Regions from separate parts of the Homo sapiens genome. Here all the other regions are linked to region 5. Evidence: promoter capture Hi-C in 16 types of primary human blood cells and fetal thymus (Javierre and others, 2016). All regions are on one chromosome and are shown on one strand. Each heading gives the region's core, a stretch centred on a gene start or on the middle of the fragment in contact. The rest is flanking DNA. Distances are from core to core; before and after follow the strand shown. Region 1 overlaps ZC3HC1 (zinc finger C3HC-type containing 1). Region 2 overlaps ZC3HC1 (zinc finger C3HC-type containing 1). Region 3 overlaps KLHDC10 (kelch domain containing 10). Region 4 holds the start of LINC03008 (long intergenic non-protein coding RNA 3008). Region 5 holds the start of KLF14 (KLF transcription factor 14). Region 6 overlaps KLHDC10 (kelch domain containing 10). Region 7 overlaps KLHDC10 (kelch domain containing 10).

Region 1 (3,356 bases), core at 196-2,695, 710 kb before region 5:
GGACAGGGTTATATTCATAAGCATCAGAGGTTAATAGTTTCAGTCTATGGCCATACCACCCTGAACGCGTCCAGTCTCATCTCATCTCGGAAGCTAAGCAGGGTCAGGCCTGGTTAGTACTTGGAGGGGACTTTGGGAGGTTAACAGTTTGATGCTAAAACCCATACCACTCTCTTAATTTGAAGAGGCTACTATTTCCTACAGTAAAGCTTGTCTTCATGGAGTACCCATAGGGTGATTAAATGGAACAGTAAATATTCAGTTTCAAAGTACAGATTGACTAGAGCATTTATTTTATTTTTGAGATGGAGTTTCGCTCTTGTTGCCCAGGCTGGAGTGCAATGGTGCGATCTCGGCTCACTGCAACCTGTCTCCCAGGTTCAAGCAATTCTCCTGCCTCAGCCTCCCAGGTAGCTGGGACTACAGGCATAAACTACCATGTCCGGCTAATTTTTTGTATTTTTAATAGAGACGGGGTTTCACCATGTTGGCCAGGCTGGTCTCGAACTCCTGACCTCAGGTGATCTACCCACCTCAGCCTCCCAAAGTGCCGGGATTACAGGCATGAGCCACTGTGCCCGGGCTGACTACAGCATTTAAACATTTCTACTCACAAGGAGAAAGGAGTTTGTTACTTTCTTTGAAAAATGATGGCCGGGTGTGGTGGCTCACATCTGTAATCCCAGCACTTTGGGAGGCCGAGGTGGGCGGATCACGAGGTCAGGAGATCTAGAACATCCTGCCCAACACAGTGAAACCCTGTCTCTACTAAAATTACAAAAATTAGCTAGGCGTGGTCGCACGTGCCTGTAATCCCAGCTACTTGGGAGGCTGAGACAGAAGAATCGCTTGAACCCAGGAGGCGGAGGTTGCAGTGAGCCAAGATCACCACTGTACTACAGCCTGGCGACAGAACAAGACTCTGTCTCAAAAAAAAAAAAAAAAAAAAAAAAAAAAAAAAAAAAAGATATGCAATAAACCATATGCAGTCACATTTCAGTATTTTCTGTTAAATAGTTTAAGTAGGCTGGGTGTGCCGGCTCATGCCTGTAATCCCAGCACTTTGGGAGGCCGAGGCAGGTGGATCACCTGAGGTCAGGAGTTTGAGAACGGCCTGACCAATATGGTGAAACCCCGTCTCTACTAAAAATACAAAAATTAGCCAGGTGTGGTGGCAGACGCCTGTAATCCTAGCTACTCAGGAGGCTGAGGCAGGAGAATTGCGTGGACCTGGGAGGTGGAGGTTGCAGTGAGCCGAGATTACACTATTGCACTCCAGCCTGGGTGACAGAAAGAGACTCGGTCTCAAAATAATAATAATAATAATTTAAGTAATAAATCAAGATAAAACTGAATTTATGGGAAGCATATATTCAGGGCAAACTTGAATCTATGCTTCCAGGTTACAGCCCTAAAACTTGGCCCAAATAAACTGCTTATATACATATATGTTAAATTGAATCTATGCCATTTAAAAAAACATACCTAAACATTCAAATGGAACTCTCAACTGTCACCTTCCTGGTGGAGACTGAAAAGGTCAGATGAGAGACAGACAAGCAGTTCTCTTCACAGCAATTGCATCTTCTTGTCATTAAAAGAAATGCTTCAGGTATAAATGCTGGCAACAACTGGAGGCCATTGCAGCCTAGTCAGGAAAAACTCACCATAGTTTTCAAGTCCTCCGGCCTTAGGGAAGGAAGCTGGAGGTCCAAGTGACAAAGGCTTTGAAAACGATCTAGGAATTCACTAACAAGAATAGCAGGCTCATCCAGGGGCAACATCCCAAATCGGTCTGTGGAAAAAGTAAATTGGAAGATTATATTGGTGTAAACTGTAAAAAATAAAAAACACGGCTGGGCATGGTGGCTCATACCTGTAATCCCAGCACTTTGGAAGGCCGAGGCGGGCGGATCACCTGAGGTCAGGAGTTCAAGACCAACCTAGCCAACCTAGAAACCCCTGTCTCAGCCTCCTTTAATACAAAAAATTAGCCAGGCATGGTGGCGCGTGCCTGTAATCCCAGCTACTCGGGAGGCTAAGACAGGAGAATCACTTGAACCCAGGAGGCAGAGGTTGCAATGAGGCTGAGATCGTGCCACTGTGCTCCAGCCTGGGCAACAGAGAGAGACTCTGTCTCAAAAAATAATAATAAAATAAAATAAATAAAAAACACATATTGAATGATTGAGGAAATATAGTAAAATTGATGAGCTATTTGATGGTGTCAGGAAATTATTGTTTTTCATTTTGATGGGGCTGTAATGATACTACTGAGACCATGTTTAAAAAGTAGAATCCATATTTTTTATATTTTGAAATATTTAGATAAAATGGCATATGTGGGACTGAACTTCAAAACAATGCAGAGGGGCAGGGTGTTAGGTGTTAGGAATATAGAAGAAACAAGATCGGCCATGAGTTGATCATTGTTGAAGTTGAGTGATGGGGTTTCATTATTTATACTATTCCGTGTACTTCTATATATGTGTGAAATTGTTACCTTAAGAAAGAGAAAACAGAACAGAGTTAGTGGAGATGGATGCTTAAATAGGTGAAAAGTCTTAAAGAACCATCATTTTATAACTACCAAGTTATAACTTACTGTGAGCTAAGAATGAAAAAAATGGCATGTTCCTAAAGTCTACACAAGAGATACAAAAAGGCTTGCATTGTAAGGTGAAGCTTAACTGGGTACCAGAGTAAATAAAGTATACAATTAGGAATTCTACTGGTAATACCTAAGTTGGAAAAGAAGGAATCTGCCTGAAATCTAAGCAGTGTGGAAACTGATTATATACTATAGTATAATTATCTCTGGCATTACCCAATTCATCTACTGCATACTTGGTACACTGGTACAAAGGCAAATGATGAGTGCAGAAAGGCCTTGCTAAGCTACTTCCTAAAGAGGTCAGTCTAGTAGGCCTAGAATGAAGTAGAAGCTACACTGAATCAGCCTTTTTTTTTTTTTTTTTTTCCGAGACAGAGTTTTTGCTCTGTCGCCCAGGCTGCAGTGCAATGGTGCGATCACGGCTCACTGCAACCTCTGCCTCCCAGGTTCAAGCAATTCTCCTGCCTCAGCCTCCTGAGTAGCCGGGATTACAGGTGCCTGACACCACACCTGGTTAATTTTTCTATTTTTAATAAAGACAGGGTTTCATCATGTTGGCCAGGCTGATCTTTAACTCTTGGCCTCAGGTGATCCACCCACCTTGGCCTCCCAAAGTGCTGAGATTACAGGCGTAAGTCACCACGCCCAGCCCTGAATCAGCTTTAATAAAGAATGAAAACACGTTTTGGAAGGGATTCATAGGAAAAGTGAAGAGAGAACATGTCATCCTAGCCTGATCGTC
Region 2 (3,118 bases), core at 113-2,612, 690 kb before region 5:
GCGGGCAGCCAAGTGTGGAGTGCTAGGACCTAAATGGGGTGACGAGAGATTCATGCAAGAAAGGATGGCAGCATGGCAGAAATGGGAGATTAAGCACATATAGGGGATTGATCAAAGTAGTAAATATATTAAGGATAACAAATTATGTTTCACAGTGTTGAATATGGGAGGGAAAAATAGGGAAAAGGAGAAAACTAGAATGAATCCTGTGATGTACAATTGCAACTGGAGATGTCAGCAGGAACTCATCGTTTTTTAAAATATAGAGAGAAATGGATGTAAATTTAGATGTGTGTATACATGTGAATGTGTGTGTCTGTGTGTGTGTACATAAACATATATATTTTCTAGCTTTTTCCTCTGAGAGGGCCTGAGAACAGTGGCATCCCACTAGCTATGAGTTCTCCCTGCACCCAGATCTTGGCATTCATTCATGCATTTATATAGAGACAGGATCTTGCTATGTTGCCCAGGCTGGTCTCTCCTGGGCTCAGGCAATTCTCCCACCTGGGCCTCCCAAAGTGCTGGGATTACAGGTGTGCCACCATGCCCAGTTCAGATCTTAGCTTTTAAATAACATTCTCCACTGAAAAACAGCCAAGGATCCTTGTAAAATTGGCTGATTCCAGGGATGGGGCAAGAAAAATACAAGATAAGCCGAGAACAACTTGTTCCTGAAAGCAATAAAGAGGTCATGGGTTATGGGACATGTCAAAAGGCCACAGAAGCCAACCTGAGGGGGATGTCACTGACTAAATAAGGAACAACTGGAGTATCAAAATATATAATGATAGTAATGAATTATAACCCATTGAATAACAAAGAAAATATTGAGTCCATGTTACTACAAATAAATCAATTACATAAAGTTTGATAAGGACTGGGATATTTACAAAGTTTCAAAGAACTTCCCCACAAAGTACTTTTTATTTACAAAGGAGGAAAGAGTTATTTTACAATAGAAATGCCAGATACTCCCTTAATCAAGTGATCAAAGTGATCATCACCATAAAGGGATAAATAGAAATCACGTGTCACCTGACAGGATGCAATGAGAATGCAGCATTGCTTCACGACACTCCTGCATAACCTGAATCTAATCACAAAGAAACATCAAACAAATGTCATTGACATACACTCTACAACATAACTGTTCTGTAATCTTCAAAAGTATCAAGATCATGAAATTCAAGAAAAAACTGAGGAAATGTTCCAGATTAAAGGAGAATAAAGCAACATGACAACTAAATGTACTGTGTGATTCTCAACTGGATACTTCAACTATAAAGAATGTTATTAGTATAACTGATGGAAAAACTGGGGTCTGAGGATTGGAGGGTAGTAATTTATCAATGTCAATTTTCTGATTTTGATGGTTGCATTCTGGTTATGTAGGACAAAGTCCTTGTTTGTAGGAAATATTTGGGAGTAGTAAGACATCACTTTGGTGGCTTACTTTCAAATAGCTCAGGGAAAAAAGGTTCTTTGTAATCTCTGCAACCTTTCTGTAAGTCTGTAATTTAAAAATTTTTAAGAATCACTGTAAAAAATTACCATGTAAGTCTTTCTGTCCTTGCACACAGGGAATAAAGTAGTGAAAAGCAGAAGACGTGGTGTGGTACCACATTTCTTCCGCCTTCAGTCTCTGCTCCTTTCACAGAGCTACCCATCAGTACCATGTTGGCCATGTTGGAGTAGAGTATCCTCAGCTTCACAACCTCTATGGTCTATAGGAGACAAAATGACAGCCCAGAGAAGAATTTGCCATTTTCAGTGGAAAACAAGTGGCAATTACTAATTATGATGACTTGTACTTTGGATCTCATTTGCTGCACTTTCCTTTATAAGACATCAACTGGGCCAGGTGCAGTGGCTCACGCCTGTAATCCCAGCACTTTGGGAGGCTGAGGTGGGTGGATCACCTGATTTCAGGAGTTTGAGACCAGCCTGGCCAACATGGTGAAACTAAAAATACAAAAACTAGCCAGGAATGGTGGTGGGAGCCTGTAATCCCAGGTACTTGGGAGGCTGAGGCAGGAGAATCGCTTGAACCCGGGAGGCAGAGGTTGCAGTAAGCCAAGATCACACCAGTGCACTCCAGCCTGGGTGGCAGAGTAAGACTCCATCTCAAAAAAAAAAAAAAAAAAAAAAGACATCAACGGCTTAAGATGGATGTTTGAGCTCACAATCTCTTTGATACTATGCAGCCATAAAAGGAACGAGATCATGTCCTTTGCAGGGATGTGGATGAAGCTGGAAGCCACTATCCTCAGCAAACTAACACAGGAACAGAAAACCAAACACATGTTCTCACTTATAAGTGGGAGCTGAATGATGAGAACACATGGACACATGAGGGGAACGACATACACTGGGGCCTGTTGGAGGTGGGAGTTGGGGGAGGGAAAGCATCAGGAGGAATAGCTAACAGATGCTGGGCTTAATACCTAGGCAATGGATTGATCTGTGCAGTAAACCACCATGGCACACGTTTACCTATGTAACAAACCCGCACATCCTACACATGTACCCCGGAACTGAAGATAAAAGTTGAAGAAAAAAAGGCCAGGCATGGTGGCTCATGCCTGTAATCTTGGCACTTTGGGAGGCCAAGGCAGGAGGATTGCCTGAGCTCAAAAGTTTGAGACCAGCCTGGGCAACACAGTGAAACCCCATCTCTACTAAAATACAAAAAATTAGCCAGGCATGGTGGCGGGCGCCTGTAATCTCAGCTACTTGGGAGGCTGAGGCAGGAGAATTGCTTAAACCCAGGAGGTGGAGGTTACAGTGAGCCAAGATGGCACCACTGTACTCCAGCCTAGATGACAGAATGAGACTCCATCTCAAAAAAAAAAAAAAGTTGAAGGGAAAAAAGGAAACAAAACAATGGATCAAATTCTTGAAGTCAGGCATATAGCACACTAGGTATGTTTCTAAATAAACTTATGACATAACGTTTAATGTCTCTTCGTGAAACATGCAATGTGATAGCTGGTATGTGCTTACTTTTTCATTTGGGTAATATTCCAGTATAAGTTTTTTTTTGAGACGGAGTCTTCTCTGCCACCCAGGCTGCAGTGCAGTGGCATGGTCTCGGCTCACTGCAACCTCTGCCTCC
Region 3 (2,958 bases), core at 428-2,927, 630 kb before region 5:
GTGGATCACGAGGTCAGGAGTTTGAGACCAGTCTGGCCAACATGATGAAATCCCCCCTCTACTAAAAATACAAAAATTAGCCGGGCATGGTGGTGGGTGTCTGTAATCCCAGCTACTCAGGAGGCGGAGGCAGGAGAATCGCTTAAACCCAGGAGGCGGAGGTTGCAGTGAGCCAAGATCGTGCTACTGCACTCCAGCCTGGGCAACAGAGCAAGACTCCATCTCAAAAAAAAAATTATAAGAAAAATAAAATACACTTACCATTCATTAAGTGGAAGTGGATCATCATAAAGGTCTTCATCCTTACTGTCTTTACATTGAGAAAGCTGAGGAGGAAGAGGAAAAGGAGGAGTTGGGCTTGCTGTCTCAGGAGTGGCAGAGGCAGAGGAAAATCTGCATATAAATAGACTTGTGCAGTTCAAATTCATTTTGTTCAAGGGTCAACTGTATAACATTCTGTAACTAAAATTAAATTGAGAGTTGTACTAAAGGTCCTAGAATTTTTTGTTTTAAAATTTACAGGTGTAGTATTATCTACTTACTAAAAGAAAAATTCAAATAATACAGAAATACATAGGGGGAAAAGTCAGGATCCTTACTGCAAGCATATATAACATTTCTACAAATCAATTTCAAAAAAGACAGTTCAATGAGAGAATGTATGTAAGAGGCTTAAGCAGGTGTTCTTAATCTGTTCTTGCACTGGTATAAATAAATACCTGAGACTGGGTACTTTATAAAGAAGAGGTTTAATTGACTCACGGTTCTGCAGGCTGTATAGGAAGCATGGTAGCATCTGCTTCTGGAGAGGCCTCAGAAAGCTTTTACTCATGGCAAGAGGCAGAGTGGGAGCAGGTGTCTTACATGGCAGGAGCAGGACCAAGAGGAGTTGAGGGGAGGTGCTATGCACTTTTAAACAACCAGATCTTGTGAGAACTCATCACTATACAGTACCAAGGAGGTATGGTGCTAAAGCATTCATGAGAACTTCGTCCCCGTGATCCAGTCACCTCCCACCATGCCCCATCTCCAACACTGGGGATTACAATTGAACATGAGATTTGGGCGGGGACACAGATCCAAACCATATCAGCAGGCATTTCCCAAAAGAAAAATTCAAATGGCCAATAAACATGAAAAGGCGCTCACCCTCATTGCAATGAGAGAAATGAATAGTAAAACCACGAGAGCTCTACAAACTCACAGGAATTGCTACATTAAAAAGACTGACAGTGGCAATACCAAGTATTGGCAAGGATATGGAACAACAGGAATTCTCACATGCTGCCCTTGGATATGTAAAGTGGTACAACCATTTTGAAAACATTTTGGCTTTACCAAACGAAGGTGAAGATTTACATACATTAAGATTCAGAAATTCCATGTTTACATTTATAGCCAACAGAAATGTGAGCCCCTGTGCACTTGCAACATGTGCAAAAATGTTTGTAGCAACATTAAGAACCACAAATTTGAAACAACCCAAAATGCCTCTTCACGCAACTTAGACTGGATAAATAAATTGTGACATATATTCATACAAATAAATAATATTTGGCAAGGGAAATGAACAGACCACTTCTTTTCCCCTAGAACAGGGATGAATCTCAAAAACATAATTGTGAATAAAAGAGCCCAGAAAGAAAATATACTATATTATTCTACATATATTATTCTATTCAAATACACTTTAAAACTAGGCCAAAATAAACAGTATTGTTTAGAGATGCATACCTAGGTATAATAAAGCTATAAAAAGACAACAGATTTTTATGATTGCCCTAAAAATCAGGAAGTAGGATACTCTAGAAGTGAAGGGAGGTTGGAGGGTGTGATCAAGATGGGCAGTCAAAGGGTTTCTGGGTGCTGGCTGTATTCTGTTTCTTGACCTGGGTGATGGTTATATGTTCCTATTTTAATAATTTATTAAGCACTTTATGCAGTATTGTGTTTCTTGAGCTGGATGGTGGTTACGTGTTCTCTTTTTAATAATTTGTACATTTAAGGCCGGGCGCGGTGGCTCACGCCTGTAATCCCAGCACTTTGGGAAGCCAAGGTGGGTGGATCACCTGAGTTCAGGAGTTTGAGAGTAGCCTGACCAACATGGTGAAATCCTACCTCTACTAAAAATACAAAATTAGCTGGGCATGGTGGTGCATGCCTGTAATCCTGGCTACTCGGGAGACTGAGACAGGAGAATCGCTTGAACCTGGGAGGCGGAGGCAGTGAGCCAAGATCACGCCGTTGCACTCCAGCCTGGGCAACAAGAGCAAAACTCCGTCTCAAAATAAATAAATAAAATAAATAATAATCTGTACATTTATATTTATGTAAATTCTAATGCATGCCATATTTAACAATAAAAGGAGTTAAATTTAAAAAGCAAAGATCCTGCCTCACATCTTCACTCAACCACCATTAACAGGCGAGTCTTTCCAGATGTGGTTCTTTCTGAAGAGTGTTAAAAAATAAAAGTTTGTTTTTCAGCAAGTGTTAGGGGTAATAAGATACAGATCTTTGTAGGGGAAAAAAGAAAGCTTATTTCAATAAAATCAGAAAAGTGGGAAAATAAAGCGAGAAAGAGCGGTAAATAAAAAATACATAAGATTGCAGGGACAAATCTAAATAAGAAATCAAGATCAAATGGACCTTATCTGTGGAATGTATTTAGTTTACTATTTTAATAGGCTTAAAGAAAAATTGTGACTTTGCTGTATTAAATAAAACATTTAATAAAATTTGATATTTAATGTGTTCATTTTGTTACAATGCATCCAGTACCCTTATGACATATATGCTTTTCTGTATGTTACATTTGAATACAAACTTTGTGTTGGGCGCACAGTGGCTCATGCCTGTAATCCCAGCGCTTTGGGAGGCTGAGGTGGGAGGATCTCTTGAGCCCAAGAGTTGGAGACCAGCCTGGGCAACACTCTGTCTCTAAGAAAAAATTCAAAA
Region 4 (3,252 bases), core at 221-2,720, 590 kb before region 5:
CTTAGCTGTGATTTTATCCTGTTGCCCAAAGCCTATTCCTTACCATCCTGTCCATTCATAAAATCAAGCAAGAACATTATTGTAGAGCAGAGGTTTTTTCTTTCATCCACAGCCAGGTGAGAGGAGGTAGTTTTGAGTGACATACAAAGCCAACCCAGCCAATCTGCTCACCCTACACTGGCCTTGCAGCCTCAAATGCAAAAGCAAGAGGCTTCTCAGATTCTCCAGCAGACAGCTCAGCAGGGGAGCTCAGCAGCCCATGCAGGAAGGTAGGTGCCAAACACCACTCAGGGAGGTCAGGAGCCACCACAGCCCAGCTCCAGGACTTGGGAAGAGAAGGCAGAGACAGCTGGGAGCTCTGGCCACTTACTATTTGGGGGCCCCACAGCAGGCCAGGAGCTTTAGAGTATTGCAGATGACATCCATGAAAAGAGAAAGCAGCTGCCATGCAGCCTGTGTCACCTTAGAGGAGTCAGACTGGTCAGTTTATCCTCCTTGAACCTGCCACTTAGAACCGCAAGGTTCTGGGAGTGGAGGAGGCTCTCACCATGACTGCCTAGGATGTGTTCAAAATCCCCACCCCACTGTCAGGGAGCAAACTTTGTTACTCTCCCAGCCCCAGAAAAATACATCCAGGCCATCCAGGCATCTCCTGCACCTGGGTTATTTACTACCCAAACCTCACCCTGAAACAGCTAAGATCAGGTCATGGTTCGGGATGTCGGCCTCTGCCTGGGCTCACCCTGCACTGCACAGGCTTGCTGCCCACAAAGACGCGGTTTATAAGAACAATAGGCACAGGGGTGTCTCAGAGCTACTTGCATACTAGGGCATCCAGGACGAGAACTCCAGCTTTACACTGGATCTAACCCCGGACCCCAAACACACACACTAACCCAGAGCCCAGCCTCTGCAGCCCCTGCCATGTCAGCCAAGCATTTTCAGTTCATTTTCTCCTCGGCAAGCCTGTATTGAATCGCAGGCCTAGAAGTTTTATCCCCGTTTCACAGATTGGCAGGCCAAGACAAGACAAATTCAGTGATTTGCCAAGGGCCAGAGAAGGGAGTCCAAGTCTGCAAGCTTGCAAGGTCGCGTTCATGAGAACTTTCATCCTCCTGGGACCCGGCGGCAGGCACATGGGCCTGGATAGTTACTGAGAAAATTCTTTCAGAAGGGCTTTCGGGGACGTGAAGTCACCCCTGGCTTCCCGGGATTCTGGGTTGGGAGCAGCCGCGCAGGGGCGGTGAAGCCAGGGGCCAGGGCGGTCCGTGCTGCGGGCGGCTCCCCAAGGCCCGGTGCGCTGGGCTACCCGCCCGCTGGCCATGGACTTGCCGCCTGCAGCGCACATGGCTGGGGAGGAAGAGCCGTGGATTTCAGTCTGTACACCCAGACGACTAAGAAGCTGCCGCCCGCTAGCGGGGAGGGGACTCGGCCGGGAGGTGGCCCCCGCAGCCCGGCGCCGCCGCGCGTCCCATCCTCGAGGCCACCGTCGCTCACCGAACATCTGGCACGTGCCATTGGTGCTGGGGTGCTGCGTGAGCGGGCCCTGCCTTCGGGAAGTTTCCATTGGGGAGGAGGCGATCGATCAGACCACAGCAAACGAGCAAGATGACCACAGTGGCCCATGGAGGGGGAATAGGAGCTGTGTGGCGTAGAAACAAGGAAAGCCTCCCGCCCGGTGTGCACGGGGAGCTAGAAAGTGTGACCAGAGTGTTCGGGGCAGGGACAAAACCCAGCTTCTGGTGTCTTCTGCAAGGGGAAGAAGCCTTGCGGTGGGAGCCAGGGGAATCCCCGCGAAGAGGCGGCCCCGCACCTATCCCGGGGCTGGGACGAAGGGTTTGGCTTCTCTAAACGCAGCGGGAAGCTTTAAGCCAGAGCCACACAGAGCATCCCTGTCGCAGGAGAGTGCCCGGGGGTCCCAGGAGGGCGAAAGCACCTTTGGGGCCGAGACACTTCTGCTCCCATCACCCCCGCCCCAGCAGGGCGCCCCTGTGCGGGGAACAGCCAGCAATCAGGGACAGCGCCCCAGGCCCCGCTGCGCCAGCACTGGCAGGAGGGACGCATGGAGGCCGGACGGAACTGGGGAGGGGGTGCTGGCCAGGGTGGGCTCAGGCCCTCCCCACTAAGGCCAGCTCGGCCCAGGGCCTCCCTGCGCAGCCCAGCGCGCCTTGTCGGAGAGGCTCCTAGGACCGGAGGGGAAGCCGCTCTGAACCGGAATGATCTGGTTTGGAGCGGGTTGGCTCCCTCCCTGCTCCCCCGCCCACTGCTCTCCCTCTCCTCCAGCGACGGGCTGGTTTTTGCCGCAGTCCCTGACCAAGGTAAACAGGAGGGAAGAGGAAAGAAGGCTGTTTCCATGGCAACCCAGGGGATAGGCGCTGTGGCTCTCCGGGATATGCGGGGGTGACTTCAGGGAGAAGAAAAGGCTCCCCGGAAAAGCCACAGGGAGGAAGGACCCTCCCATGCACACGGTGGGGTGCGTTCAGAAGTGGGGGGATGGAGGGAAAAGGAGAGGGGTCAGGCACCCTCGGTGAAGTGGAGAATTGAGCAGGGGCCTGGGGACACAGAGACACATAAGGGCCAGGGGTCATACCGAAAATGCAAGCACACAGGCTCTTCTGGCCACTCAACCCAGGGAGCAGAAAACAGAGGTGCCAGAGCTCTCAGAGATTCCGAAATCCACACCTCTCTGGTCCTTTCCAGAAAACCCTTCCAGGGGGCAGCTCAGCCTGGGGACAACCACAGAAGTGGGACCTGGGCCCAAAGACAGGTGTCACCTGAAACAGGCCACTGTTGTCCGCCTGCAGTATGCTGGGAGGACCAGCTCCCGCTCCACCCTGCTCCCCCTGGGAGGAAGGCTGACCCCTGCGTGGGAGTGTGACTGCTGGAAAGGCATCCTTGCTGCAGCTGTGAGTGTGATGGGACAGCAGAGTCACTCCTGCATGGGATTCTAGGGCTGGGGGTCCCAGAGGGGTGGCCTCCGCCCCTCCTGGGGGCCGAGGACTGTCACCATGTCACTACGGCACTCTCCAGCTGCTGACCAAAGCCCTCGCTAACCGCAGCCCTGCCATACTCTGGGTCTTTCCTCTGGAGCAAGGTGAAGAGACTGCAGCGAGGCGTGGAATTGGGAAGCTCTTCTGGTTTTATTAAAAACTCGTTCCACCACAGGAGTCAGCCTGGCCACTCAGGTGTGGGGCGGGTCTCTCCTCATTTAGCTTTCACCTGCGTGCCCAGGGATAGGAGAAAAACGGCACA
Region 5 (3,226 bases), core at 303-2,802:
CCTCTCCAAGGTCCGCCCTGGTGGATGGGTGAGACACCAGAGTCCTTTGAGACTGGGAGCTCCTCAGGCATCTGAGAATTCCAGTTTCACATCCCTGGTTCCAGGGAGGGGAGAATCTTCAGTACTCTGGAGAGTACGGGAGTTCATCCCTTCTTATCAGTTCCTGGGGGCTGTCTTGAGGCAACCCCCACTTTTAGGATGATATACACGTTGCAAGAATTCCCGCTATTTTCCGGCCCCCAGTACCTCCCCAGAGTCCACATGTCTGCCTGGACCCACCCTCAGAGCAGAGGAACCAGTCTGTGCCTTGGTGTAATGACTCTGGGAAAGAAGGATGGGCAGAGAGAAAGCAGGGACAACGGCCTGGGGGATCATCCTTGAGGGTAAGACTGACAGCAATGACTGTCCTACAGGCAGGTGGTGAAGCTGGGCGCCGGGCCGGGACCGGAGCCGGAGGCGGAGCTTTCCACCTCGCTGGTGAGTGGCGGGTCGATGCGGGGAGTTCGACGACGTCCCCGGTACTCGATCATATCTGGATGATAGGTTGGGTGGCGGCGAGCATGCTTGGTCAGGTGGTCGCTCCGGGAGAACTGCTTGGGGCAGAGGGGGCAGGAGAAGCGCTTCTCGCCCGTGTGCGTCCTGTAGTGGCGGGCCAGCTCGTCGGAACGCGTAAACTTCTTGTCGCAGTCGAGCCAGTCGCAGGAGAAAGGGCGCTCACCCGTGTGGGTGCGCTGGTGGGACTTGAGGTGCGACGACTTGTAATAGGCTTTGGTGCAGCCCGGGAAGGGGCATTGGTGGCGCTTGGCAGCAGGTGTGACAGACCTCCTCCGGGGCGCCTGATCCGCGGCGGGGGCGGGGCCTGCCCCTAGGGCCCCTCCAGAGAACCCACCAGAGGCTGCTGGTGCGCCCGGGGCAGCAGGCGCGCTTGGGACGGCGGGCGCATCGGAGGAGCTCTCGGGAGCGCAGACCGCCGCGGCGCCGGAGGCGGGAGCCAGCTCGGAGCACGGGGTCTGGACGGAGCACGGGATCGGGTCGGAGAAGCCGGACGAGGCGCGTGGAGCTTCCCCCGAGTTCTCCCAGGAGCCCTCGCCAGAGCTGCCGCGCAAGTCCGCCCAGACGCTTGCAGCCAGCAGGTGGGGCGCGGCGCCGCCCGCGCCGGGGCTGGGGGCGGGGACCTGCGGGAGCTGGGGGACCGACGCGGGCCCCGGTGGCCCCGGACCCGGCAGAGCGGACTCCGGCGGCGCCGCACCCACCTCCGAGCCAGCGGCTCCACCCGCGCCCTCGGGGTCCGGCGGGCGGCGGTGAACCACGGCGCCCGCGGACATGGACACCAGGCACTCGGCGGCGAAGTAGTCCAGGCACGCCACGGCGGCCGACATGCTGGGACCGCCCGGCCGCCGGCGAGCGCCGTCCGAACGCGGCCGGCCGCGGGCGACGGAGTTCCCGGGAGCGTCCGTCCCGCAGCCTCGGAGCGAGAAGCAGGAGGCCGGGTGCTCGCCGCCTGCCGCCTGCTGCCGCCGCCGCCGCCGCAGCCGCCGCTGCCGCCGCCGCCCGCGCGGAGCCCGCCCCGCCTGACGCGCCCCTGACGCACCGGAGCCCGCGGGGGCGGCAGAGACCCGCCCCGGCCCGCAGGACACCCCCTCGGAACGCGCGGCCCCCGGCTAAGTCATGTTTAACAGCCTCAGAAATTATCTTGTCTCCGCGTTCTTTCTTCTGCCGGCGAGCCAGGTAATGGTAACAGAGCGAAACTCCCCAGTCGGAACTTCTGGGTTGCAGCAGCCTCGCCCCCCCTCCCCGCAGCCCGCCGCCCGCTGGTCCGTCGCCAGCTGGGTGTCCCGCGGAGTCCCAGAAAGTTTTTTTTTTTTTTAAGGAAAAAAATTGCTAATACCTGACATGTCTTTCGGTTCATAATTGCGATTGTTAGCGAAGTGGTCTCGAATTCCATTTCACTCCCCGTTCGCCGCTCTCAGACTAAATTGCAAATATCCCCAAGTCTGTAGCAAAAAAAGTTTTCTCATTGAGCAGGTCAACTGTGAACCCGGGGCCGGGAGCAGTTCCCTAAATAGATCCGCTACGTAGCCATTAATTAATAGCATCTCGAACCAGAAACAGTTTTAACCTTGGAAAAGCAAAGAATCCTCTCCCGGTTGAAATTGAAACTTAAAATCCTTTGAGTAACGATTTAACTATTCAGCCAACGAAAGAAAAATGCATGTTTAAACTGCATTAACCTGTCACTGGCATCCAAACAAATTTAAACGCTGAGATATAAATTATAGTCTAGCGGCGAGATAAACACATTAAAATGGACTCCCACCATTTTAATAATAGAAAGTCACGTTTCCAATTAGGCATTATCTTGTAATTTGCTTTTGACGAAAGTTAAATGTAAGGAAATGCAGCACATGATATAGAATGCTCATATGGTGTTTTGTGATTGTGGAGGTTTGCCTTTTTTATAATCAAATGCATGTACGGTTTCTTTTACGTGTCTTCATTGCTCTCATTTTTTCCCTCGTTTTTCTTTTTAAAAATGTAAAACTACATAGAAAAACAAACAGGATAATTTCTAAAAATAGTCATATCTTAGTTTTTGATGTATACAAGCTTTTATATGAGTGAATTGTGTGCATTTTATTTGTAGTTCTTCAGTACTTTTTCTTTTGAAAATTAATACGTATGTATCAAGAATAACATACGTTCATGTATTTACTGCCTAGGGTAATCAAATGTGAAATTTTTGTTATAGTTGTTTCATGTTTTTATTTATATTAAACATTACAGATAGAGTTGAATGTCACTTTGTTTCCCTCCCCAGTTCCATTCACCTTTCTCCCTCTTCACTTTTCTAGGTAATTAGTATTATAAAGTGGCTATTTAATCTGCATTTGTTTTGATACCCGTATTACCTAATTATACATGTAAATATATGTATATCTCCATGCTTATTTATTAAAATTTTTAAGTAAATGGTTCACTAGTATACATATCATTTTGCAACTTCTTTCCCTCAATATGATTTTGACAGCTATCCAGGTTGACACCTATAGAATCTACTTTATTCATTTCAGCAGTTTTTAAATAATATTGTCAGTGTTATTATTTTTAAGGCGATTCCATTGCAAAACAGTTAATTTTTCTGAAGTTCCTCTAGACGATTAACTCTTCGTTAATCTACACATTAAAATCTATCAGATAGAATAATTTACTAGCTGTTTTAATTTTA
Region 6 (3,339 bases), core at 79-2,578, 660 kb before region 5:
AATTGAATATTCAATCTAGTAGAAGGAAGGTAGGGAATTAAATAATGCAGAGAACGTCAAATATCCCACTGGGCAAGCTTATTTTTACTATGAAAAGAACTATCAGGAATGATGTGTTAATTATTCATCGTGTTTTTTGTGAATAATATTGATTATATTAGTGATATATTTGTTTAGCTGATGAGTTTTGAGAACATGATGAATTGGTTTTTATGAATTGTGCTTAAGACTGTACCTTATACTTCTAGTCAAAAATTATTATTTGATTAAATTGAAGATGACAAAGGGAATTTAGCACATTTAATGAGACAATTGCTTATGTTCGTGATGAGGTTGTTGATGTGTGCTAGAAATGTACATTACCCCATTTATATGCATTAAATCGAGGCATTTGTAAGTAGTCATATAATATACCAGAAGTTGGGTTTGAGACGTTAATATCAGACTGGGCATCCTAGAATTGCTAAATATACGATCTTTAACATGAAAAAGAAAAAAGGAGCAATCTTTTTTCTTACTCCCAATTAATAATAAAAACTTAGATTTTTGTGTATTGGCAGCTTAGAAGATGAATCTCTTAGCAAACACTGTCACCAGTTTGCCCTCTACTACCGCAATCTTTAGGTCTTTGATCACGGATTAATTATACCATGGGCTTCAAGTAGGCATTCCTAGGTTCCTAGAACCTGCTTGGTGCACTTCCTCACTTCAACCACGTGATGGCAGTGGAAGCCATGATTTCTGCTAAGGGGCTTCAGTGTAGAGCTATTTCTGCATTCCCTTAGCACACAAGACCAAGAACAGCCATTTATCCGGAGGTAAAGATAAACGTGTCTAAACTGTGAAAATTTGTAAAGCGGGGTCATCAGTCTCTTTTTTCTGCTTCCCTTTTCTCTTGACTGACACTTCATTGCTCCTTTACTCATTCTCAAAATTGGGACACATCTGATACCTCAATGTATTATGTAGTTTGAAATTCTTTCATACCAATTCTTTATTCTGCTAGGTATTGCATTTTAAGCCTCTCCCTTTTCTTGCATTTTGATAGATTTTAAAAGATTTTAGGTGATGGGGAGGAATAGGATGTCTAGGCTTGGTTGACGGGCCTTGGAGATAAAACCTTTTATTTTAAATTTATTTATTTATTTATTTATTTATTGAGATGGAGTCTCACTCTGTCCTCCAGGCTGGAGTGCAGTGTCGCGATCTCGGCTCACTGCAACTCCACTTCCTAGGCTCAAGCAATTCTCCTGCCTCAGCCTCCTGAGTAGCTGAAATTACAGGCGCCCACCACCACGCCAGGCTAGTTTTTGTATTTTTAGTAGAGACGGGATTTTATCATGTTGGCCAGGCTGGTCTTGAACTCCTGACCTCAGGTGATTTGCCTGTCTCAGCCTCCCAAAGTGCTGGGATTACAGGCGTGAGCCACCTCGCCCAGCCAAATTTTTTATTTTTTTGAGTGTACTATAGCGGCTGGTCGTGGTGGCTCACATCTGTAACCCCAGCACTTTGAAAGTCCAAGGTGGGAGGATCACTTGAGCCTAGGAGTTCAAGGCCAGCCTGGGCAACAAAGCAAGACCACATCTCAAGTTAAAAATTAAAAAACAACAACAACAACAACAAAAAACTATAGTATAGCTCACTGTCTCTCTCTTTTGACCTCTAAATCCTATTTGTCTTTTTTTTTTTTTTTTTTTTGAGACAGAGCCTCACTCTGTGGCCCAGGCTGGAGTGCAGTGGCACAGTCTTGGCTTACTGTAACCTTTGCCTCCCGAACTCTAGCAATTCTCCTGTCTCAGTCTGCCAAGTAGCTGGATTAGAGGTGCGGGCCACCACGTCCGGCTAATTTTTTGTATTTTTGGTAGAGATGGGTTTTTGCCATGTTGGCCAGGCTGGGCTCGAACTCCTGGCCTCAAGTGATCCTTCCGCCTCAGCCTCCCGAAGTGCTGGGATTACAGGCGTGAGTCACAGCGCCCAGCCAGCCCCATGTTCCATTTTTCATCCTTCTCTACCAAGACTTCCAGTTACTGATACTTAGAACCTTTTCTTACTTTTTACATCTCAACCCTCCATCCAGCCCCCAATGAAACCAAACAAAACAACCTGGTCTTCCTGGAGTGTTCTCATTCTCTTTCAGTGATAGCTTCTTTATCCATCCAGTTATGCAAACTTGAAACTTGGTCATCCTCCTCAATATTTTCTTCTCCGTTGCACTTCAGGTGTAATCATTTACCAAGTCCGTTTCTTTTACTCCTGCCATAACTCCAATCCACGGTGCCACCATCCCTCACTTAGGTCTCCTGCAGGAGCTTTTTAAGCAGTATTCGTGCTTCTACTCTTGCCCTTCAATTCATATAGCACACCAGTCTTTTTGCAAGCCCAAATACATTCTCATCCCTGCTCACAACCTTTTTATTGCTCTTAGGATAAGGCAAAAATCTTTAACATGGCCTCAAAGGCACTGTGTCGTCTGACTCCTCTCTAACTCTACAGTTAATCCTGTGTTACGTTCTCTTGGTCATTGATCTTTTTCTGCCCCCTTGGATGTATCATGCTTCCTCCTGCCCCAGGTCCATTGCACAAGCTTTTCCGTCATCCAAGAACCTTCTTACTCCTCATTCCATTCTCTTGTTTTAACTTCTCTTCCATTAGATCTCAGTTTGATCAAAATGTTTTTTTACATGGAAGCCTTCCGTGACTTTCTGACTTGGTCTCTTCTCTCTGTAACACTCATAGCATCATGTGGCTCTCCTTGGGCATACTTTACCATTTGTGTGTGATTCCTTGATATGCATGATTTGATACTCTTGAGATGTATGTGCGTATACATATACACACATATGCGTATATATATGCCATATACATATACATATATTTTTAAAATTCTAAATTAACGCATTGGCATTATATATAACACGTTAGTGTCTAGTGAGTTTGGTTAGTGTGGTTCAATCCTCTAGCCACATTGACTCTGGATAGATGGTTAAAATCAAGGTTCTCTCTCTTTTTTTTTTTTTTTTTCTGAGATGGAGTCTTGCTCTGTCACCCAGGCTAGAGTGCAGTGGCGCAATGTCACTGCAACCTCTGCCTCCCAGGTTCAAGCAGTTCTCCTGCCTCAGCCTCCTGAGTAGTTGGGATTATAGGTGCGCGCCACTGTGCTACTTTTTGTATTTTTAGTAGAGACGGGGTTTCATCATGTTGGCCAGGCTGGTCTCGAACTCCTGATCTTGTGATCCACCCACCTTGGCCTCCTAAAGTGTTGGGATTACAGGCGTGAGCCACCGTGCCTGGCCAAAATCAGGTTCTTTAATGTAAAGTAGTGGATTAGACTCTGCATCC
Region 7 (3,322 bases), core at 56-2,555, 610 kb before region 5:
TTCTTTTTTTTTCACTTTCTGTTTCTAATTCAATTTAGGTCAGGATGTAGACCTGTATGGAAGTTCCTTTAAATGTTAGAACCCCACCTCCACCTCTACCCTCACCCCCCGTGAGAGATTGGGCTTCACTATGGTCTGGGTCCTGGTCATTTTTAGAGTGATTCTTGAGTAGATGAGAAAGCACTTGGTGAAGAAACTTTTACATGGATCTGAGCTAAAACATACATTATGTAGAGATTAGTTTAGGTTCCAGCGCTTCAAACCTTAGGTCTGAAAAGTTATATCCAGAAAGATAGGGAGCAACCCACCATACATCAGAGACTCTTTGAGAGTTTAAGCTTAAAACAACCAAGCTTTGACTTCTTTCTTGACTCGCTGGCATTAGTACTGATAAACAGCTTCTGAGCTTAACTTCAAAGGAGCACATACTGGATAACTTTGTTGCTTCCACAGGAGGCATTTAAACTTAAGAAGTGGCCATAACAATAGCTGAAACTTTCATTGAAAAGGGTCCAGTGGAAAACATCAGGTTCCTTGAACTGCTAACTAGGGTTTCTACTTAGCAGATTGTGGTGGCTTATTTTCATATCTGCTGCTTCTTGAGAGCATTTTTCTTCAGACTGCTTATAAAGAGAAGCAGCTTTCAATGGAAATGCTTATGCCCATGGGCTAGAAATTATTTGATCAGCCAGGACCCTTAAGAATCATCTTGGGAGGTAGGACTTCCTTTCCAGTTGAGTAAAGCTTCACCTTTCTAAAGGTGTTTTCCAGGTTCTTAAAATAATCTCTGGGTTCTCTAAAATCTTTATTCTTTTAAGAGTCTGATACATTAAAAGATTAAAATACAAGAGAATTTCATAAAACCTGATTTGGAGGTATCTGGTAAGTTTACATTCTTTAATCAAGTGTTAACAAGTCGGTCTTATTCACCTTTCCTTGTTATCCAGGCTATGGCCATCATCAATGGCTCCCTTTATGTCTTTGGAGGTACAACCGGCTATATTTACAGCACAGACCTGCACAAGTTAGATCTCAATACCAGAGAGTGGACACAACTGAAACCAAACAACCTATCCTGTGATCTACCAGAAGAGAGGTGAGGTTCTAGGATTCAAGCATATTTATTCTTTCGTGCTAACATTTGACCTCTTTCAGAGTGTTGGCAATATGAAGAAAACCCTTTGGCCCCAGTTAGAATAACTAACTGGCTGTTGGATGTTAGATCTCAGGTAAATAGTAAAGAAAGGTCTATAGTAAAAAAAGTTCTTCTGGTGAGGAAATAATATTTCCTTCTAAACTACAGAATTTTTTTCCATGTCATTTCCTCTTATACTTTAGTCTCTCTGCATTAGGAAGATAGTAACACTTTGAAGAAGAAACCAGTGGTAACAACTATAACCAAATTTCATATTACAGGCAAAACAGTTACCGTCCAGTTACTTTTTGATTTCCCTTTTTTTAAAGAAAGGGTCTCACTCTGTCACCTAGGCTGGAGTACAGTGACATAATCATGGCTCACTGCAATCTTGACCTCCTGGGCTCAAGGCATTCTCCCATCTCAGCCCTCCGCCCAAGTAGCTGGGAATACAGGCATGTGCCACCACGTCTGGCTAAATTTTTGTACAGATGAGGCCGCACCGTGTTGCCCAGGCTGCTTCTCAAACTCCTAGGCTCAAGTGATCTGCCTGCCCTTGGCTTCCCAGAGTGTTGGGATTACAGGTGTGAGCCACCAAGCTGAGCCTGATTTCCCTTCTTAACTTGCATATTAGAATTCTTTGGCTCATTCTCTCACAGACATATCTTCAATACAGGGCACAGGGCCATCCCCACAGTGATGCCCAGTGAATGTTGATTGGATAGATGGAAGGAAGCTTGCATGGATGGATGGGTGATGAATGATAGATGGATGTATGGATGGATGGATGGATGGATGGATGGATGGATGGATGGAAAGGTCATTCATTTTAAGTGCTGTGTTAAACACTCAAACATCGCATGGTTCTCTCTAGTTGCCTTCTAGTAGCAGATCTATATCTTTCACTTTTCTTTCCTAATAGCAGTTGCCTCTTCATAGAATTAAACTCACTGTGGCTGGGCGCAGCCTGTAACCCCAGCACTTTGGGAGGCTGAGGCAGGCGGATCACGAGGTCAGGAGTTCGAGACCAGCCTGGCCAACATGGTGAAACCCTGTCTCTGCTAAAAATACAAAAAAAGTTAGCTGGGTGTGGTGGTGGGCACCTGTAATCCCAGCTACTCGGGAGGCTGAGGCAGGAGAATTGCTTGAACCCGGGAGGCAGAGGTTGCAGTGAGCTGAGATCACGCCATTGCGCTCCAGCCTGGGCGACAGAGCAAGACTCCGTCTCAGAAAAAAAAAAAAAAAGAATTAAACTCACTGAAATACTTGAAGAGATTTTTTTTCCCCTCCAGTTTGAAAGCAAAGACAGTAAACCATTTTTTATTAACTCTATTTAGATGAATCCAGTGCCTCTTTGTTGCCTCTTTAAACAAAATAGCATATAGGTGCTAAGGAAGAATTTATCTTAATTGTAGACTGTTAGTGGACTGATCATTGTAAAACTACCATAAGAGGACTTGGAAGTTGGCCTCTTACTGGAATGATTTTGATGTAGTTTATTTTATCAGCAACAAGGCCTTCAGGTAAAGAAGGAAATAGATTAAGTTTTCAAAGCATTTTCACATGGTTGCTTTCTTTAAGTCATTTTATGGACATATCATAAATTATTTTAGCTTTTAGCTAGACTGCCTGGATGAAAGTTCTGAGGTGTTTTATGTTATATCCACAGTTCTGTGTAGTATAATTTTCTGCTAAATAAGTATCTTAATTTGCAAACTCATAGTCTAAGGTCTCTAAATGTAGGCAGATCACTTTTTAAAACTATGTAATAATTTCCCCTTTATACAAAGTTATCACAAAAGATTATAGAAAAATCTACAAAATACAAATTAGCAAAATGAAGAAAATAAAAATCCAAGTCTAAACTCAAAGATAACCAGGTTTAATGTTTTGGATGATATCCTAATAGCCATTTTCTGTACATATTAATGTATCTATAAATTTTTAATGCAATTGATTAAAAAATAATGACACAAAAAAGTTCTCAATACATTAACCACCATCTGGTGCCTACTCTGTTACTGGTTGTATACTAATCCATTTTATGTATATTCTGTAAGTCATATAACCAATTCACTATTGTTAAACGCCTAGGTTATTTCCAATAACTTATTGTTATAAATAATGATGTAATAAAAAACCTTATAGCTAAATCTTAGATAGGTCATTTTTCACTTAATTATAAAT

The links. The method cuts DNA at HindIII sites, captures the fragments that hold promoters and counts their contacts. A CHiCAGO score of 5 or more calls a contact.
Region 1: a contact is called between a fragment that was not itself captured here and the fragment with the promoter of KLF14 in region 5, in 4 of 17 cell types (endothelial precursors, megakaryocytes, M2 macrophages and 1 more). The highest score is 11.5, in endothelial precursors.
Region 2: a fragment that was not itself captured here is called in contact with the fragment with the promoter of KLF14 in region 5 in 1 of 17 cell types (M2 macrophages); the score reaches 7.3 in M2 macrophages.
Region 3: a contact is called between a fragment that was not itself captured here and the fragment with the promoter of KLF14 in region 5, in 12 of 17 cell types (megakaryocytes, endothelial precursors, erythroblasts and 9 more). The highest score is 11.4, in megakaryocytes.
Region 4: a fragment that was not itself captured here is called in contact with the fragment with the promoter of KLF14 in region 5 in 4 of 17 cell types (megakaryocytes, erythroblasts, fetal thymus and 1 more); the score reaches 10.4 in megakaryocytes.
Region 6: a contact is called between a fragment that was not itself captured here and the fragment with the promoter of KLF14 in region 5, in 16 of 17 cell types (megakaryocytes, naive B cells, total B cells and 13 more). The highest score is 34.9, in megakaryocytes.
Region 7: a contact is called between a fragment that was not itself captured here and the fragment with the promoter of KLF14 in region 5, in 13 of 17 cell types (megakaryocytes, endothelial precursors, M1 macrophages and 10 more). The highest score is 13.7, in megakaryocytes.

The regions. Positions count from the first base shown.
Region 1 is chr7:130,027,235-130,030,590 of GRCh38, forward strand. ZC3HC1 (zinc finger C3HC-type containing 1) reads right to left here. Exons shown (of 10, transcript NM_016478.5): 5 at 1,668-1,795. It also overlaps the pseudogene RNA5SP245. Among named protein-coding and RNA genes, the nearest start is that of ZC3HC1, 22 kb to the right of the region's middle. The HindIII fragment of the contact is 2,476 bases long and covers 208-2,683 here.
Region 2 is chr7:130,043,762-130,046,879 of GRCh38, forward strand. All of the region lies in intron 2 of ZC3HC1 (zinc finger C3HC-type containing 1), which reads right to left. Among named protein-coding and RNA genes, the nearest start is that of ZC3HC1, 6.1 kb to the right of the region's middle. The HindIII fragment of the contact is 8,261 bases long and covers 1-3,118 here.
Region 3 is chr7:130,103,863-130,106,820 of GRCh38, forward strand. All of the region lies in intron 2 of KLHDC10 (kelch domain containing 10), which reads left to right. Among named protein-coding and RNA genes, the nearest start is that of KLHDC10, 35 kb to the left of the region's middle. The HindIII fragment of the contact is 1,716 bases long and covers 820-2,535 here.
Region 4 is chr7:130,139,455-130,142,706 of GRCh38, forward strand. It overlaps LINC03008 (long intergenic non-protein coding RNA 3008), which reads left to right and starts at 2,277. Exons shown (of 2, transcript NR_149034.1): 1 at 2,277-2,318; 2 at 2,805-3,164. RefSeq lists enhancers at 1,511-2,174, 1,587-1,666, 1,847-1,986, 2,175-2,838. The HindIII fragment of the contact is 784 bases long and covers 1,079-1,862 here.
Region 5 is chr7:130,732,655-130,735,880 of GRCh38, forward strand. KLF14 (KLF transcription factor 14) reads right to left here and starts at 1,553. Exons shown (of 1, transcript NM_138693.4): 1 at 1-1,553. The coding sequence starts at 1,379. The coding sequence ends at 408. It overlaps LOC105375508 (a long non-coding RNA gene), which reads left to right and starts at 1,610. Exons shown (of 4, transcript XR_927978.3): 1 at 1,610-1,728. RefSeq lists an enhancer at 624-1,161 and silencers at 1,057-1,216, 1,287-1,366. The HindIII fragment of the contact is 4,510 bases long and covers 1-2,605 here.
Region 6 is chr7:130,071,616-130,074,954 of GRCh38, forward strand. All of the region lies in intron 1 of KLHDC10 (kelch domain containing 10), which reads left to right. Among named protein-coding and RNA genes, the nearest start is that of KLHDC10, 2.8 kb to the left of the region's middle. The HindIII fragment of the contact is 2,507 bases long and covers 76-2,582 here.
Region 7 is chr7:130,121,107-130,124,428 of GRCh38, forward strand. It overlaps KLHDC10 (kelch domain containing 10), which reads left to right. Exons shown (of 10, transcript NM_014997.4): 5 at 948-1,096. Among named protein-coding and RNA genes, the nearest start is that of LINC03008, 19 kb to the right of the region's middle. The HindIII fragment of the contact is 1,127 bases long and covers 743-1,869 here.